2 separate regions of the Homo sapiens genome follow, and region 1 is linked to region 2. Evidence: promoter capture Hi-C in human tissues and cell types (Jung and others, 2019). All regions are on one chromosome and are shown on one strand. Each heading gives the region's core, a stretch centred on a gene start or on the middle of the fragment in contact. The rest is flanking DNA. Distances are from core to core; before and after follow the strand shown.

Region 1 (7,508 bases), core at 1,531-4,030, 36 kb before region 2:
GGTATCAAGCAGCCTCCTGGCCAAATCAAGATTTGGGTGCCAAGTCAGGTTTTTACTGATGTCAGCAGGTTAGATGGCAGGTCAGGGCTTCTCACTTGCTACTGGCCTTCAATTTTTCACCTGTGAAACAACGTGGGGACCCCCAGCTCCCCACTCTGTGAGCCCAAACCAGTTAGCAACTGTTTGCTAAATTCAACTGTGGGCCTGGGATTTATATCCCCAACAACAAAGCCAGGGTTGCCTTCCTCTCCCTCACCTCCCCCCATGCTGTGTTGAATTCCACTTCTTCTCTATATTCCACTATGTCTACCCTAGTCCAGGCCACCATACTGCTCACCCAAAGACATTCACTTCCTCTAAACTTATCACCTCCAGCTCGTGGTCTATGTGGCAATCTCAGTCTGTCTAAAATGTCACCCCCCTGCTTAACCCTTCCTTGACTCTGCTTGGCCATGGGGACAAAGCCCTGGCCTTCTGGGCTGACAGAGAAGGGTTTGCACATGCAGGCAGTTGACTTCTCCAACCACTGCCCACTACATCCCCCTTACACACTAGGTTCGGCCACAGTGAAGTTTCAGTTTCTCCAAAGTAATGTTTCCTCTCACCTTCAGACCTTTGCCGATGGTGTTCCCTCTGCAAGGAATGCTTTACCTGGCCACTTCTTACTTATCTTTATTTTATTTTATTTTATTTTTAGATGGAGTCTCACTCTGTTGCCCAGGCTGGAGTGCAATGGCGCGATCTCAGCTCACCGCAACCTCTGCTTCCTGGGTTCAAGCGATTCTCCTGCCTCAGCCTCCCCAGTAGCTGGGATAACAGGCATGCGCCACCACGCCCAGCTAATTTTTATATTTTTAGTGGAGACGGGGTTTCACCATGTTGGCCAGGTTGGTCTCAAACTCCTGACCTCAGGTGATCCTCCTGCCTCGGCCTCCCAAAGTGCTGGGATTACAGGCGTGAGCCACTGCACCCGGCTTTTGCTTATCTTTCAAGTGTAAGTTTAGATACTGACATCTTGGGAGAGCCTTCCATCACATCTCCAAGTTGGGGTTAGGTCTTCCCAACTTGGAGCACTCCAGTCTCTTCTCTTGCCTCAATAAATATTTGACTTGGAGTGTGGAGGAGGGATGTAGTCCCTCAGGTTATCTGGGGAAGGCATGTGTCCCCTGCCCCTCACACTCCCTAGTAACATGGGCTGGAGTCCCTCATGAAGGAGATGCCTGCACAGCCCTGTTCTTCACTTAGATCCTATTCTAAGGAGGGCAGGGTCATTTATTTCTGAAGGTGGACTCTTCTCTGGGCCACACTGTAAAGAGAATCACTGCTTTGCCAGCAGGGCACACAGGGGTCTCTGTTGTTTGGTGGTAGGGGTACTCCAGGATGACCAGCCAGAACATAGGGGCCCACAGGGCACAGGCAGGGGCCCGCAGGGCACAGGCAAGGGCCCAGGCTGGAGAAGAAAAGGCCTAGGTTCTAGCTCTGACTCTCTCCATCTGACTGAGTGACCACCCCATTAAGACTGCCAGACTTCAGCTCCACCTGGGCTTGCAGTGACAGGTTGTGCTAGGCCAAGGGAATTCTTTAGAGACCTGGTTGCCTTTTGAACTTGAGTTTCTGGCTCTTGGGAGAACAGAATGACTATTCCCACACAACTAGGAATGTCTCCCTGGGGCTCTGTTCTTTGAACTGACTTGTAAAAGAAATTAAGGGGTCCCACAGACCAACCTTGAGGATTTTCTTTCTGAGTCAACCCAGGTCACCGCTCTCCAAAACCTTCACCAAGTCTGCTCACCCCTCACCGCTACTCTGCTACTGCTAGCTTAAGTAGTTACGGAAGGTCCCCAAGGGCCCCTCCCATGCTGGTAAAACAAGGGTCTGTGTGTAGGTTTAGCTGTTAACTGGAGTGAGTTCTAGGGAATGGAGAGTTGGGATGACACACACTCATTTTACTGTGTATGCTTCTGTAATGTGGGAATGTTTTTACAAGCATGTATCACTCCTATAATTAAAGATGCAAATCTAGTAAAAAGCTCCATCCCTTAGGCCATAGGTTCAGGGGGCAGAGAATGTCAAGGAAGACTTGATAGGTGAGACAGTGTTAAAGCGGGGCCTGATCAGGTGGGCCAAGCATCACAGCAAATGCCCCCATAAGGGGGCTTTGGGACCAGGTAAAGGCAAGATCCAGGACCTGAAGATGGGAGAGCTTTGCAGGGAGACTATAAAAAGGATGGGCACATACATGGCTGGGGGATGATGATCTGAAGGACTGGTGAGTGGTGAATTGGTACCGTAGTGGGTGAAGCCTTAAATGACAGACTGAGGAGTTTGTAATTAAAGTGTATCTGAGTCAGAGGGATGTGACCTGAGCTAGGCCTTCGGACTGGAACTGACAGAGGTAAGAGAGAGACCAAGGCTGCCAGGAGGTTATTTGCACATCCCAGTGAGAAGAGCAACAACCAGGAGACAGAGATTCCTGGGTGAAAGAGATGGGCTGTCCAGGGACTAGATACTAAGGGCAGGCCCCATTCTCCATCTGCGCCGTAAATTCTCCTGTAGCCTTTCTGGGCACTGGCAGCTCCATGCCTGAGGTTCCTGGGCCACCTGTAGCTGGAGACAGGGTGCCATCCCAGCATGGCTCTGGCTTGGGCCCACCTGCCCACCATGACCCAGAGAGAGTGGGGCCTGCTGGACCACTCAGGGCCTGCGATTCCTTCTGCCTTCATAAAACAGCTCTGGAGCTGATGTTTGTTTTAGATTTGCGTGGTGATTTATTTGCATTTCACATTTTCCTGGGGCCTGGAGGAAAGGCAAGTTTGCACACCACAAAAACTGTGACTGGGGTCATACATGATGTGCCAGCATGAGCCACATCACTCTTCTCATGCTATAAGGCCTGTTGCAAGAGGCAAGGTGGGTGCTTTGGTGGCGCTGGGGGTTCCCCTGGGTTCTGGAGAAGCTCTGAGACCTCAGGGGACTGTATCTAACAGTGGAGAGAGTTGCAGAGTGCCCCACCCAGTGTGCCTCCCAGCCCTGCCTCCTGCCCCATCCGAGGCTTCTGGGGACAATCAGGCCTAACGGTCCATCCAGAATCACTTGGAAACCTACATGGAAAAGGAATGAGGGGCTTGGGCAGATTCTCCTAGACCAAAGAAATTTCACTCTCTTTTTTTTTGGAGACACGGTCTTGCTCTTTCACCCAGGCTGGAGTGCAGTGGTGCAGTCATGGCTAACTGCAACCTTGAATTCCTGGGCTTGAGTGATTCTCCAGCCTCAACCTCCTGAGTAGTTAGGACTATAGGTGTACACCAGCTATTTCTTTTTTCTTTTTCATTTTTTGTAGAGACAGGGTCTCGTTATGTTGCCCACACTGATTTTGAACTCCTGGCCTCAAGCAATCCTCCTAGCTCAGCCTACCAAAGGGCTGCGATTACAGGCATGAGCCACCTCACCTGGCCCCTCTTCTTTCTTAATTTATGATAACTTCACCATCATGGTCAGGTACCAAAGACCCAAATATAAAAGGAAATGCAACAAATCTTGCAGAGGGAGCATCTTCTCCACTCCCCTGACTCTTCTGAGTTAGCGGAGAGAGATCAAGGCTACACTCCACCCTGAAGGAGCCCAGAAATTTCAGAGCACAGTCAACACATCAGGTGAGATTCCCTTATTTCTACCCCAGGTGGTTGCCCAGCTCAGGACTCTGAGCCTGCCCTTCCCTCTCCCTGATTTGCCCCTCCTCCTCCTGTTCTTTCTTGCAGGTGTCACCTCCTCTGTGAAGCTTTCCTTTACTACTCTGCCAGCAAACTCCCCTCCCACATTCTTTCTGGACCTTGTCCTTAACCCATCACTGCATATTGCACCCTCTGCTGCTTTGCTTTATTTATGTGTCCGGGGTGATGTCATAGGAGCCCTCCCCTCTGTGTCCCCAGGGTATAGCCCAGTGTCTTCCCCATTGAGCTCAATACACACTGCTGCAACAGAGCCACGAAACAGTCTCAGGCTGCCTGAGCCAATTCCATGCCCTTTGGGCTGATTTTTCCCTCCTCACTACTCCCTGCATCCTTCTCTGCCCAAGGTGGGGCCTGACCTCAACCATGCCTGGAGGTGTCTCTCATGAAAGGGCCTTCAAACTAGGGTCTGCAGAGGTCCTCCAAGGCCTTGTTGGTAAACTTGAGATTCAGGCCAAGGCACAATGGGAAGGCTGGGAATTCTGGTGATCCCCTTACTGCACTGGAAATTGACTCTTGTACAGCAAGAATGCAGTGATGACTGATGACCATGTGCAATAAGGAGCATGGCTTGTGGCCTGAGTGAGTGAACACGCTAGCTGCCCAGGGTGTCCTGACAGCCCCATCTGGAGATGGCCAAGTAGGGATGCAGGACACAGGACTTCATCCAACTTGGGCCAACACCCCCAACCATGGGCAGAGAGTAGGACCAGCCAGGCAGGTGGGAGGTCCCCAGCCACCCTCCATGCCGCAAGTACCACTGAGTCCTTAGTCCACACACAGCCCAAGATAAGGTTCCACTGTCCAGGCAGAATGTGGCAGAAAGGAGAAAGCAAACTCCTGCCAGAAGGAACTTGGCAGTACCTGCTGTCCTTTCGGATGCCCTAGCCCCAGGCTTCTTGCTCCAGACTTCGCATTCCTCTAGGATCACAGTACCCCGTCACTGGCCAGTTGACCAAGCCAGAGCCTTGTCTTCCTTCTGCCAGGGCAGATTTTCTTCCTGTGGACTTTTCTCACCTTAGAGTTCTCTGGCTGACTGATGGCTCATCTTCTACTCAGCTAGGCCTCTGCCGCCCAATACCACCCTCCTTACCCCCATCCCCAGCTTGAGTCAGCACTCAGCTGGCTGCTCAAGATTTGGCTCTGCTCTCTGAGAGGTCTCTGGGCAAATCCTCAGCTCAGCGCTAAATACTTCTGCATTCAGTCTCTTTGGTTCATTGATCAGGAATCATATGATCTTTTAAAAACACAGCTGGTGGAGGCGCCCATCTGTGTTTCTGCATTTGGATCAGTAAATCAGGCTGCCTGGAATTTACTTAAACCTGCAGGTCTAGGGATAGAATGAGGCTGCCCTCACTATGCCTCCTGTGATGATCTTTCATCTTCTGGAGCTTCTTAATTTTTAAGAGCACCCTTGGCTGGGCTTCTAGGACTGGGTCTGTTGTTTACACTTATTTGTCTCCTAAGCTTCTCTAAGGACTATTTTCTTTTTAAAGTGAGATTCACTAATTACGGGGTGAAGCACAGTTTGCACTCCTCCCCATCCCCATCACACACACACACGCACACGCACACACACATGTATTTCCCAGACAAAATGGGTTGTAAGTCATTTGCCAGGTCAGTAACCCAAGGTAGTAATGTTCTCTGTGCTTCCTCCCTCAGACCTCATCCTGTGTGATACACACGGGAACACTGCTGATGTGGCAGAGATGGCCAGTTATCCCCAATATCTGGTCTAGCTGAACACATGGCCACCCAAAATAAATACTAAATTTCCTAGCCCCCTTTGCAGTTATCAATATATGACTAAGTTCTGACCAGTGAGACTAAAATAGAATGGTACATCCAACTTCAGGAAATCACACGCTGCTTCCTTTCCTCCTTCTTCCCACTAGCTGCAATGCACTGTCTGTGATGTGATTGCCGGAGTTCGAGCAGCCATCTTGGGACATGAGGATGAAGCCACATGCTTTGAGGATGGCAGATGTGGTAGCTAGCTTCTGAGATGGCCCCCAGTGATTCATGTCCTTATTCAGTTCTCTCCTGTATGCAATAGGGCTGATCCATGTAACCAACAGGGTATTGCAGAAATGATAGTAAGTGACTTCTGAGATGACATCATAAAAGACATTGCAGTGTATGCCTTGCCCTCACTGTATCACTCGTTCTAGGCTAGCAGAAGCCCACTCAAGCAACCCAATGAAGGATTAGGGGCAGTGAGAGACCGAGGCTTGCTGCAAATAGCCAGGGTTAACTTGCCAGCAATGTGGTGGTCCAGTCACCCCTTCAGATGACCACAGCTTCATCTGACATCCCAACTGCAACCTCATGAGACAGCTTGAGCCAGAACCACCCAGCTAAGTCTCAAATCCTGACCACGGAAAGTGCGAGATAATAGATGTTTACAGTTGTTTTAAGCCACTGCATTTTGAAGTAATTTGTTACTCAACAATAGAGGAGAACAATAAAACAGAAGGAACTTTGGCCTTCTGAAACAGTGGAGGGCCTAGCAACCCTTGACACCTACCTCCAACCTCATCTGGTTTTTTTTTTTTTTTTTTTTTGAAATAAACTCCTCTTGTTTTCATAACTATTATTTTGGGTTTTCTGACACTCCTATTCCTATTCCTGGTTTGGCACCATTCATTCAGAAATTCTTCTAAGAGTCGCCAGCTGGAAGTGCCTTTTGGAGGCTGTCTCAGTTGTCCCTGCTGCCAATGGCAAGTTGATGCCCAAATCTTCCTAAGATGATGGGCAGTTTATGTCAGAAATGTCTGCAAAAGGCATTTTATAATGAGAACCACAGCCCAAGGATCAGGAGACCCTGACTCCACCCTCTCCTGTGCAGTCTCTCTTATCACTTAGGTGACCTTACCTGGTACAGGGAGAGGCCACTCTCTTATGGGTCTCCCTGGGATGTCCATGAGGCCCAGACAGATTTGTGAATAAGATGCTTTGGGCAGTGCCATGACACTTTACCAGCTGACAGCAGTGCTCTGCTGTGGGTCTGGCTGTTTCTGGATAGTGTTGGCCTACATCAGCATTTGCAGGTGACACTTCAGGAACCAGCCTTCAGGTAAGCATCTCAGGTGGTCTCCTGAGCGATCCGTACACCGCCCTGCTCAGATCCACTCAGTCATGGCAGCTGACAGACTGAGTGATGGCAATCCTGCTAGCCCATGCCTTTCACTACAGCAGTCCTTCCCAGGTCCCTGATTGCAGAACAATGGCCAGCCCCTCTGAGGCTTCCTCTCCACCTCACATTCTGCTTCATCACAGACTCTGACATCCCTGTGAACTAACCAGCCAACACAATTCTTGACCTCACTCATCACAATTCCCAGACCTGCTTAATGTTCCCCAACTTCTCGCATTTGGCTCTTGCCACAGTGGGATAGCTTCTGTCTGAAATCTTAGTTTCTTGCATTCTGCCAGAGGCCCTGACATCTGCTTTCTAGATTTTTCCAGTCCTCTCACCACTTCTGCTCTTCAGCCTTAACAAAGACCTTCTGACCCTAGAGGCCTCGAGTGTTTCCCCAGCCCAGACCCCTCTGAACCATCTGAACAACCATGCATTTTCTTAAACCCTGCATTAGCTAGGGTAATGCTCAATGCTGTAACAAGCAATCCCAAAATGTATATTGGCTCCTACAATGTAGTTGATTTCTTGCTAACAGAAAACTAAATGTGTGTTCCTGATCAGTGGTGTTTGTCCTCCAAGTGATGATTCAAGAATCCAGGATCTTCCCACACTGTGGCTTCACCATCTCCAACATG
Region 2 (7,696 bases), core at 608-3,107:
GCTACTCAGGAGGCTGAGGCAGGAGAATCACTTGAACCTGGGAGGCAGAAGTTGCGGTGAGCAGAGATCACACCATTGCACTCCAGCCTGGGCAAAAAGAGTGAAATTTGCTCTCAAAAAAAAAAAAAAAAGAGAAAAGACATACAAGTTTATTAATGTGCATAGTTAATCACAGAGTGATTACCCCATCATCCAGAGTGTGAATATTTTAGATGGGTAGTAAATGATTTTTAGGGTAATTCAATGGGCTTGAAGAACATGCAATGGCCTGGGACAAAGTCTGTTGGGCCTGCAGAGGAGACAAGGGTTTGTGACAAAAGTCTGTCCTAGTGTGTTGACCATACTTCAGTCTTTCCTCCTGCAAAACAAATTCACTTAATGAAAACTCAGGGAGGGAACCAGAGATAATTGTTTCCTTTGGCGTTCTGGACTAAATTTAGGCAGATAAGGGAACAACTTCATCTTGTGCTTTGGGAGGAACAAAGAATTGACAGACAGGAGTGTGTGTTGGTGGCGGAGGTCACAGAGACCTTGAGGCTTCTTCATCAGTTCAGCATGTCAAAATACATTTTGGGGTGTTGGTTTCTGAGCCCCAACACCCAGTTACTGTAGTTGAATGCTTCCAGGGATGGAAAATTCACCACTTAAAAGGAAGCTCTTTTTTCTCTCAGTGTGTCTGCTACCTGAGACTCGAACAGACAGCAGAGTCATGCCAGCTAAATAAAAACTTTCAGGTCCAGCCAGTTACGATGGCTCATACCTGTAATCCCAGCATTTTGGGAGGCTGAGGGAGACGGATCACTTGAGCTCAGGAGTTCGAGACCAGCCTGGGCAACATGGCGAAACCCTGTCTCTATTTAAAACCAAGTCCAAACTTGCTCATTTCCTCTGGACACATTGTTTCTGGCTCCTTCCAGCATCTTTTGTAAACACAGGTGTCACTGTTCTGGTTAAAATCCTTCAGCGGCTCCCCATTCTTGGGATCTAGCCAGGATCCCTGCCTGGCCTACTGGCCTTGCTGACCTCTGCAACTTCATCTTCTCCATTCTCTACCTGCCCTGCCCCGCCCCCCAACCCCTCCTACCCCCTATCTTGCAATTCTCTTACCAGGCCATGCTCTCTCTTGCTTTGACCGACTCCCCTTTACTCAGAAAACTGCTCATTCTTCACTTCTCCAGGATCACTTCCCTGACCCCAAGACTAGATTGGGTCCCTTGCTTATTCATGGTTGTAGCACGCTGAACTTCTCTTTACTAATACTTGTCAACGCTGAAATTCTCCATTTACTTGAGCAATTATGTCACTAATGTCCACTCCTCCACTCCATGGTAAAGTTCAGGCGAGCAGGGCTCCGAATGTGCTCTCATTGCCTCTCCAGCACCTAGCAATGTGCCTGGCAAGTATTCACGGGATGGATGGATTACTCGCTCCAGGAAGGCGGGCCCCAACCTTCGTGGCTGTGGAGACCCCTGGAAGTCGACCGTGACCCGGGCCCCCTGATGTCGCTCAGGATGAGGCGGTGCCCGGGAAACTCTCAGGGCAAGGGCACAGCATAGCTCTGGCTGGCATCCAGCTGCCAACTGGAAGAGGGCGCTCCGAATCTGTGTTTAGGGACCTCAGTTTTCCCACCGGTTCCCCGCAGGGTCGACCGCAAAAGACCCTTGTAGCCCTGGGTAGACCCAGGGCAGGAGCCACGGGCTGCGGCGGTCTGAGGAGCCAGGAGCCGCTCTGTGCCCCCGCAGGCCGCCGCTCCGGGCGAGGGCGCTCCAGGTTGGTCTTCTGGAGCAGTCGTGCGCTGATGGGGCCCCTCTGGCCGGCAGGCGGTGGCGCAGTGCGCGTCGGGAAGGCGGCGGGCTATCCGGTCCTCGGCTGCGGCGGGCACCATGGTCGGTGGCGAGGCGGCTGCCGCAGTGGAGGAGCTGGTTTCGGGGGTGCGGCAGGCGGCCGACTTCGCGGAGCAGTTCCGCTCCTACTCAGAGAGCGAGAAGCAATGGAAGGCCCGCATGGAATTCATCCTGCGCCACCTGCCCGACTACCGCGACCCGCCCGACGGCAGTGGCCGCCTGGACCAGCTGCTCTCCCTCTCCATGGTCTGGGCCAACCATCTCTTCCTAGGCTGCAGGTGCGGACCCCTGCCGGCCGGCTGATCCTGTCCCCTATCTTCCGACCCTCAAGGCCTCTCCCAGGGCTCACCCCTGACCCGAACCTCTGCCCCAGACTGAACCCGGGCCCAACCTCCATCCGCATTGGTCGGCCCGAAGACTGATTCCCACCCTGGAGGCCCCTTGGAAAGATCCTTATCTTTGAGCCTCAGTTTTCTCTTCTGGTAAAAGGGTGGTTATGATGGCTGTAATAATTAAAGGGTGAAGAGCTAAATACATGGCGGGTTCAAAGGTTGCTATTGTTATTTGTATTACTATTATTATTAGCTCAAACCATCACCTTTGCAGTATGCATTCGAAGTCCGTTAGCCCCTGTCACCTACATGGCAAACGTGCAGAGAGAGAAACGGAGATCCCCATTTTACAGATGAAAAAGCTTAGGGAGAGAAGTGATATACCTGGGGCCATGCAGCTTCTGGCAGGATTGATGGATTTTAATCACTAATGAGAGGATGTAATCTGTATCCTATGGCTTTTTCTCCTCACTCCACAGCCCACGGGGTCCTAAGTAGGAACCAGCTTCACCTCTCTGCTTTCCCTCTTATGAAAATGGCCGATGCCTTTTTGTGAAGGTCTCAAAGCCCACTTCATCCTGGCTGCAGCACCAAAAGGACAAAGGCCCGCTTTTGAAGTGCCTGATAAGGCATTCCTTTCACCCCTCCATGAGGAAGGTGGCAAATCTTGAGACTCCCTATTAGAGAGCTTCGATTTTCCTGAAATTGTGTTAGGAAAATAGGGTGACTTGGTTTGATCTTGGTTTCTATACCTATTATGGCTGCCTGACTCTGGTCATTTGGCCCCTGCAGGCCTAAGCCACTTGGTTTTGCTTCACATATTGGGGTTTATTAGAACAGTACGTAGGGAAGCAATGCCAGAGGCACCCGTCCCTTTTCCCTGCCTTCTAGGTGCTCCTGGGAAATCCTGGTTTTCCATGGTTAGGCAAATGTCAGAGAATTGGGGAAATAAATAATGTTTTTGTTAGACTAACATTCCATGTATTTAAAAAATAAAAATATTTTGGTCCTCATCCTGTATCTGAGAATATCTGTTGCTGGATGTACAGTGCCTCTGTTCTTCTAAATCTTGAAACATCTGCTGTACTGGTATTTCTGAAGTCCACTTCTGTATCTACAAGCAAGAAGTGTTCACAGGGCCAGGCACGGTGTCTCACGCCAGTAATCCTAGCACTTTGGGAGGAGGATCACTTGAGGTCAGGAGTTGGAGACCAGCCTGGCCAACATGGTGAAACCCTGTCTCTACTAAAAATAAAAAATTAGCCAGGCGTGGTGGCACACGCCTGTAATCCCAGCTACTCGGGAGGCTGAGGCAGGAGAATTGCTTGAACCTGGGAGGTGGAGGTTGCAGTGAGCCGAGATCACACCACTGCACTCCAACCTGGGGGACAGAGCAAGACTCCATCTCAAAACCTTGTGGGGAACATGTATAGGTTTGCCCTGCAGTATCAGGTCAGTTCTCTGAGAGCTGATTTTATAGTTGAGCAACCTGCAGTTTCTTATTAATCCACAGTGACAATTGTTCCAAGGTTTTTACCTTACTACTTTTTATTGTGCAGTTACAATAAAGACCTTTTAGACAAGGTGATGGAAATGGCCGATGGGATTGAAGTGGAAGACCTGCCACAATTTACTACCAGAAGTGAATTAATGAAAAAGGTAAATAGGATTTCCAAGTGCATGTGATGAAATGGTGTAGAGTTAACAGTCCCTGCCTTGATGACACTATATTAGAGTATATTGTTTTTGAATGCTCTTTACTGCCCCAAAGACCTATACCCTTTCATTTTTATTTCCCCATAATTGGTATAAGCCTTTTCATAAATAGTTGACAACTCACTGTGGTAAATTATGCATTGTTGATGAGGTAACACATAAGCTTAACCTCTTCCGGTTGTTTAGGAACATTGTTTTGAGATTTTTGCTTGATGTTTAAAAAGATGTTGGCTAGAATACTTAAGTTTCCTACTTGTTAAAAAATCTCATTGGTAAGACTCATCCTTACCCCAGGTGTGAGTGCCGGTGTGAGTGCCGACCTGACTTGTTTGGCTTCTGTGATTTGCTGATAAGAACGTGCCTGGAGCAATGTCGATGGCATAGCTGTTCTCTACCCTTTGGGGTCTGATCTCAGGCGATGGGCTTTTTACAGTGAGTCTTGCCTAGAGTCTTGAATCTGGACACTGGAGCTGGGGCTACAGAATGTGGCAGAAAGAACCTCAGAATATGGAGCTGGGCATCCCAGCTATTAATACTTTTCAGAATCACCTCCAAAACATGCTTGTTTCACATTTGTCTGCTCAGGCAGCAGAATTAATTGCTCGCTTATCTTCTGAAGTTCCTTTGGCACTTTATCCAGGGCTCTTTTAAAGCAGTTGTGACCTTACAGATGGTGTCTAAAGTTCTATTTAGTCTTTACAACTCCCAAACCTAGTATACTTATACCCCAGAGAAGGTACTCAGAAAATACTTATAAAATCGACTGAAGCAGTAGAGTAAAAAGCTGCTGGCCCCTTTTTAGGTCTGCCCTTAGAAACATAGGTAAGCCCATTCCTCCACATTTAGGTCTTGTCTTGGGAGGTGGGGCACATATAGAGGTCCTCTTCCATATGGGTGTCAAGGAACTAATCAGATTCTCAGTTGCTCATAAAGTATTTCAGTCCCAAATAGTACACCCCACTTGATTTTCAGGATGGTTTGTTTTTCTTAAAAAAGTATTCTTTTAGTTTTAATCTGAACCTGGGGAAAAGCTTCAGGTTGGTTTTCGAGATGCTATTATGTTTTAAAATCAGCTGTTACCTCAACACAGTACTCCTGACAAAAAATCAGTAAGTAAAATCAGCTGTTTTTTTGTTTTTGTTTGTTTGTTTGTTTGTTTTTGAGAGGGAGTCTCCCTGTGTCGCCCAGGCTGGAGTGAGGTGGTGCGATCTGGGCTCACTGCAAGCTCTGCCTCCCAGGTTCACACCATTCTCCTGCCTCAGCCTCCTGAGTAGCTGGGACTACAGGCGCCTGCCACCACGCCCAGCCAATTTTTTTTTTTTTTTTTTTTTTGTATTTTTAGTAGAGACGGGGTTTCACCGTGTTAGCCAGGATGGTCTCGATCTCCTGACCTCGTGATCCGCCCGCCTCGGCCTCCCAAAGTGCTGGGATTACAGGTGTGAGCCACCGCACCAGGACTAAAATCAGCTGTTAAAAAGGGGCTACTGTTTTTAGCCAGGGAGCAGTGTGAATTGGGAGTGTGTGGCTTTTTGGATCTTCTCATGTAATACTTAAAAAAATACTGGGCAGTCCTTGGGTGTTCTATAGTAAGGTTCTTGGGGCCCAGCCAGGGAGGAGCTAGATAGTTTCTGGCTACTGGAGTATACCTTATGGGGCAGGGGCAGGGGCAGAGGTAGGCAGGGAATGAGGTGAGCCTTTATTTTTAATTTATTTTTTAGATAGAGGCTCACTTTGTCACCCAGGCTGGAGTGCAGTGGCACGATCTCAGCTCACTGCAACCTCTGCCTCCCAGGCTCAAGTGATTCTAGCGCCACAGCCTCCCCAGTAGCTGGGATTACAGCCGGGTGCCACCATACCCAGCTAATTTTTGTATTTTTAGTAGAGAAAGGGTTTTGCCATGTTGTCCAGGCTGGTCTTGAACTCCTGGCCTCAAGTGATCTGCCCAGCTTCCCAAAGTGCTAGGATTACAGGCGTGAGCCACTGCACCTGGCCGAGCCTTTATTTTTTAACTGCTTGTGATAGATTCTTTCCTTTTTGTTTCTAAGAGGTTTTCTGATTTTCCTTTTTTTTTTTTTTTGAGATGGAGTTTTGCTCTTGTTGCCCAGGCTGGAGTGCAATGGTTCAGCTCACTGCAACCTCTGCCTCGCGAGTTTAAGCGATCCCTTGCCTCAGCGTCCCAAGAAGCTGGGATTACAGGCGCCTGCCACCACGCGCGGCTATTTTTTGTATTTTTTAGTAGAGATGAGGTTTCACCATGTTGGCCAAGTTGTTCTCGAACTCCTGACCTCAGGTGATCCACCCACCTCAGCTTCCCAAAGTGCTGGGATTACATGCGTTAGCCACTGTGCCCAGCAAGGTTTTCTGATTTTTTATATCAGTTCTCCATTATACTTCTCTGTCTTATATGTTTTCTGAAAGGTATCTGAACTCTTTCCAGTCATGTTGGGTATTAGAGATCAGAACACCTAATGACATTGGGCTGCAGACCCCAGTAGGAGACTAAGGAGGTTTGGCACGTCCCAAACATTATCTATAGACCAGTGTGAAGTGTGTGTGTGTGTGTGTGTGTGTGTGTGTGTGTGTGTGTGTTAGGAAGGGTCTTTCTGAAACATCCTAAAGGGGTCTTATACCTAAAAAATGTACAGAGCCCCTGCCCTGGGATGTTCATTCTTGACACTGTCATTGCACAGTGTGAGTCTACAGAGAAGAGTCCTCAGGCATGAAATTATCTTCTTGAAACCAGTGCCGCCATCTTACTAATCATTAGCAGTTAGCTATGTGGAAGAAGCCTATATAGAGGCCATACTTCTATAGCATTTTTGAATTGTGTGTTGCAACTTCCTTCAAATAAAACTTATGTTTTTCTAAGTAGCCAGGTTTAACTTTAGTCTGTTGATGCCACTCTAAGTGAAATTCAGCTGATCCTGAAAAGTGAGATACTTAGAGGGTGCATAGAGTTTTGCCAGTTTTGTTTTCAGACAGGGGTCTCTCTCTGTGGCTCAGGCTGGAGTGCAGTGGCTTGCTCACGGCTACCCGCAGCCTTGACCTGCCAGGCTCAAGTGATCCTTGCACCTTAGCCTCCCCAGTAGCTGGGACTACAGGTGTGTACCACCATGCTTGGCTAATTTTTGTAGAGACTGGGTTTTGCTATGTTCCCCAGGCTGGTCTCAAATGATCCACCTGCCTCAGCCTCCCAAAGTGCTGGTGTGAGTCACTGTGCCTGGTGAATCTTTAAGACTCTTCCAGATAAGCCCATTCTGAGAACGAGTCATCTGATCTATGTACCATGACAAATTTGTGTGGTATTGAAGGCTGTCCCCTCTCCATTGAATGCCACTGGAAAGAGAGCCATGAGGACTTTGCAGCAGTTTCATCCTTTGCCTGCAGTTTTTGCACACATGACAGAGGATGCTGAAAAACATTAGGCAACATTGCCAGCCCATAGACAAAATACTCCTGATGTCCAGCCATACACCTGAAAACGTCTGTTGTTGTTCTGCCCAGAATTGATGCTTTAGCTAAAAAATTAGAGTTTAGTTGGGTTTTAAAGCTAGCTACCAAGTGGAAGTAAATTGCCTGGCATTGTTGGTATCTCAAGACAGACAGTGATGATGATTTGGAGACATAAGCTCTTTAAGATTTTAAAAATACTTTATGGCTATTCTGCAGCTTTGAGGCAAGTAGATCTCTGCAATCTGTCCAGCTCTTTTTTTAAGTCTGAGAAAAGAAATGAGCATTGGTTTCTGACAGGTGGAATTTGTTGGACAGTTGCAGTATATGATTTTTTTTCTTTTGAAAGGGGAT

The links. The method cuts DNA at HindIII sites, captures the fragments that hold promoters and counts their contacts. A contact is called where the count stands out against the background at its distance.
Region 1: a contact is called between a fragment that was not itself captured here and the fragment with the promoter of CDKN2AIPNL in region 2, in 1 of the 25 tissues and cell types used here (mesenchymal stem cells).

The regions. Positions count from the first base shown.
Region 1 is chr5:134,443,432-134,450,939 of GRCh38, reverse strand. No RefSeq gene overlaps it. Among named protein-coding and RNA genes, the nearest start is that of LINC02999, 12 kb to the right of the region's middle. The HindIII fragment of the contact is 3,414 bases long and covers 1,074-4,487 here.
Region 2 is chr5:134,406,042-134,413,737 of GRCh38, reverse strand. It overlaps CDKN2AIPNL (CDKN2A interacting protein N-terminal like), which reads left to right and starts at 1,857. Exons shown (of 3, transcript NM_080656.3): 1 at 1,857-2,122; 2 at 3,736-3,835. The coding sequence starts at 1,884. RefSeq lists enhancers at 989-1,726, 1,714-2,203, 1,727-2,465. The HindIII fragment of the contact is 17,979 bases long and covers 1-3,297 here.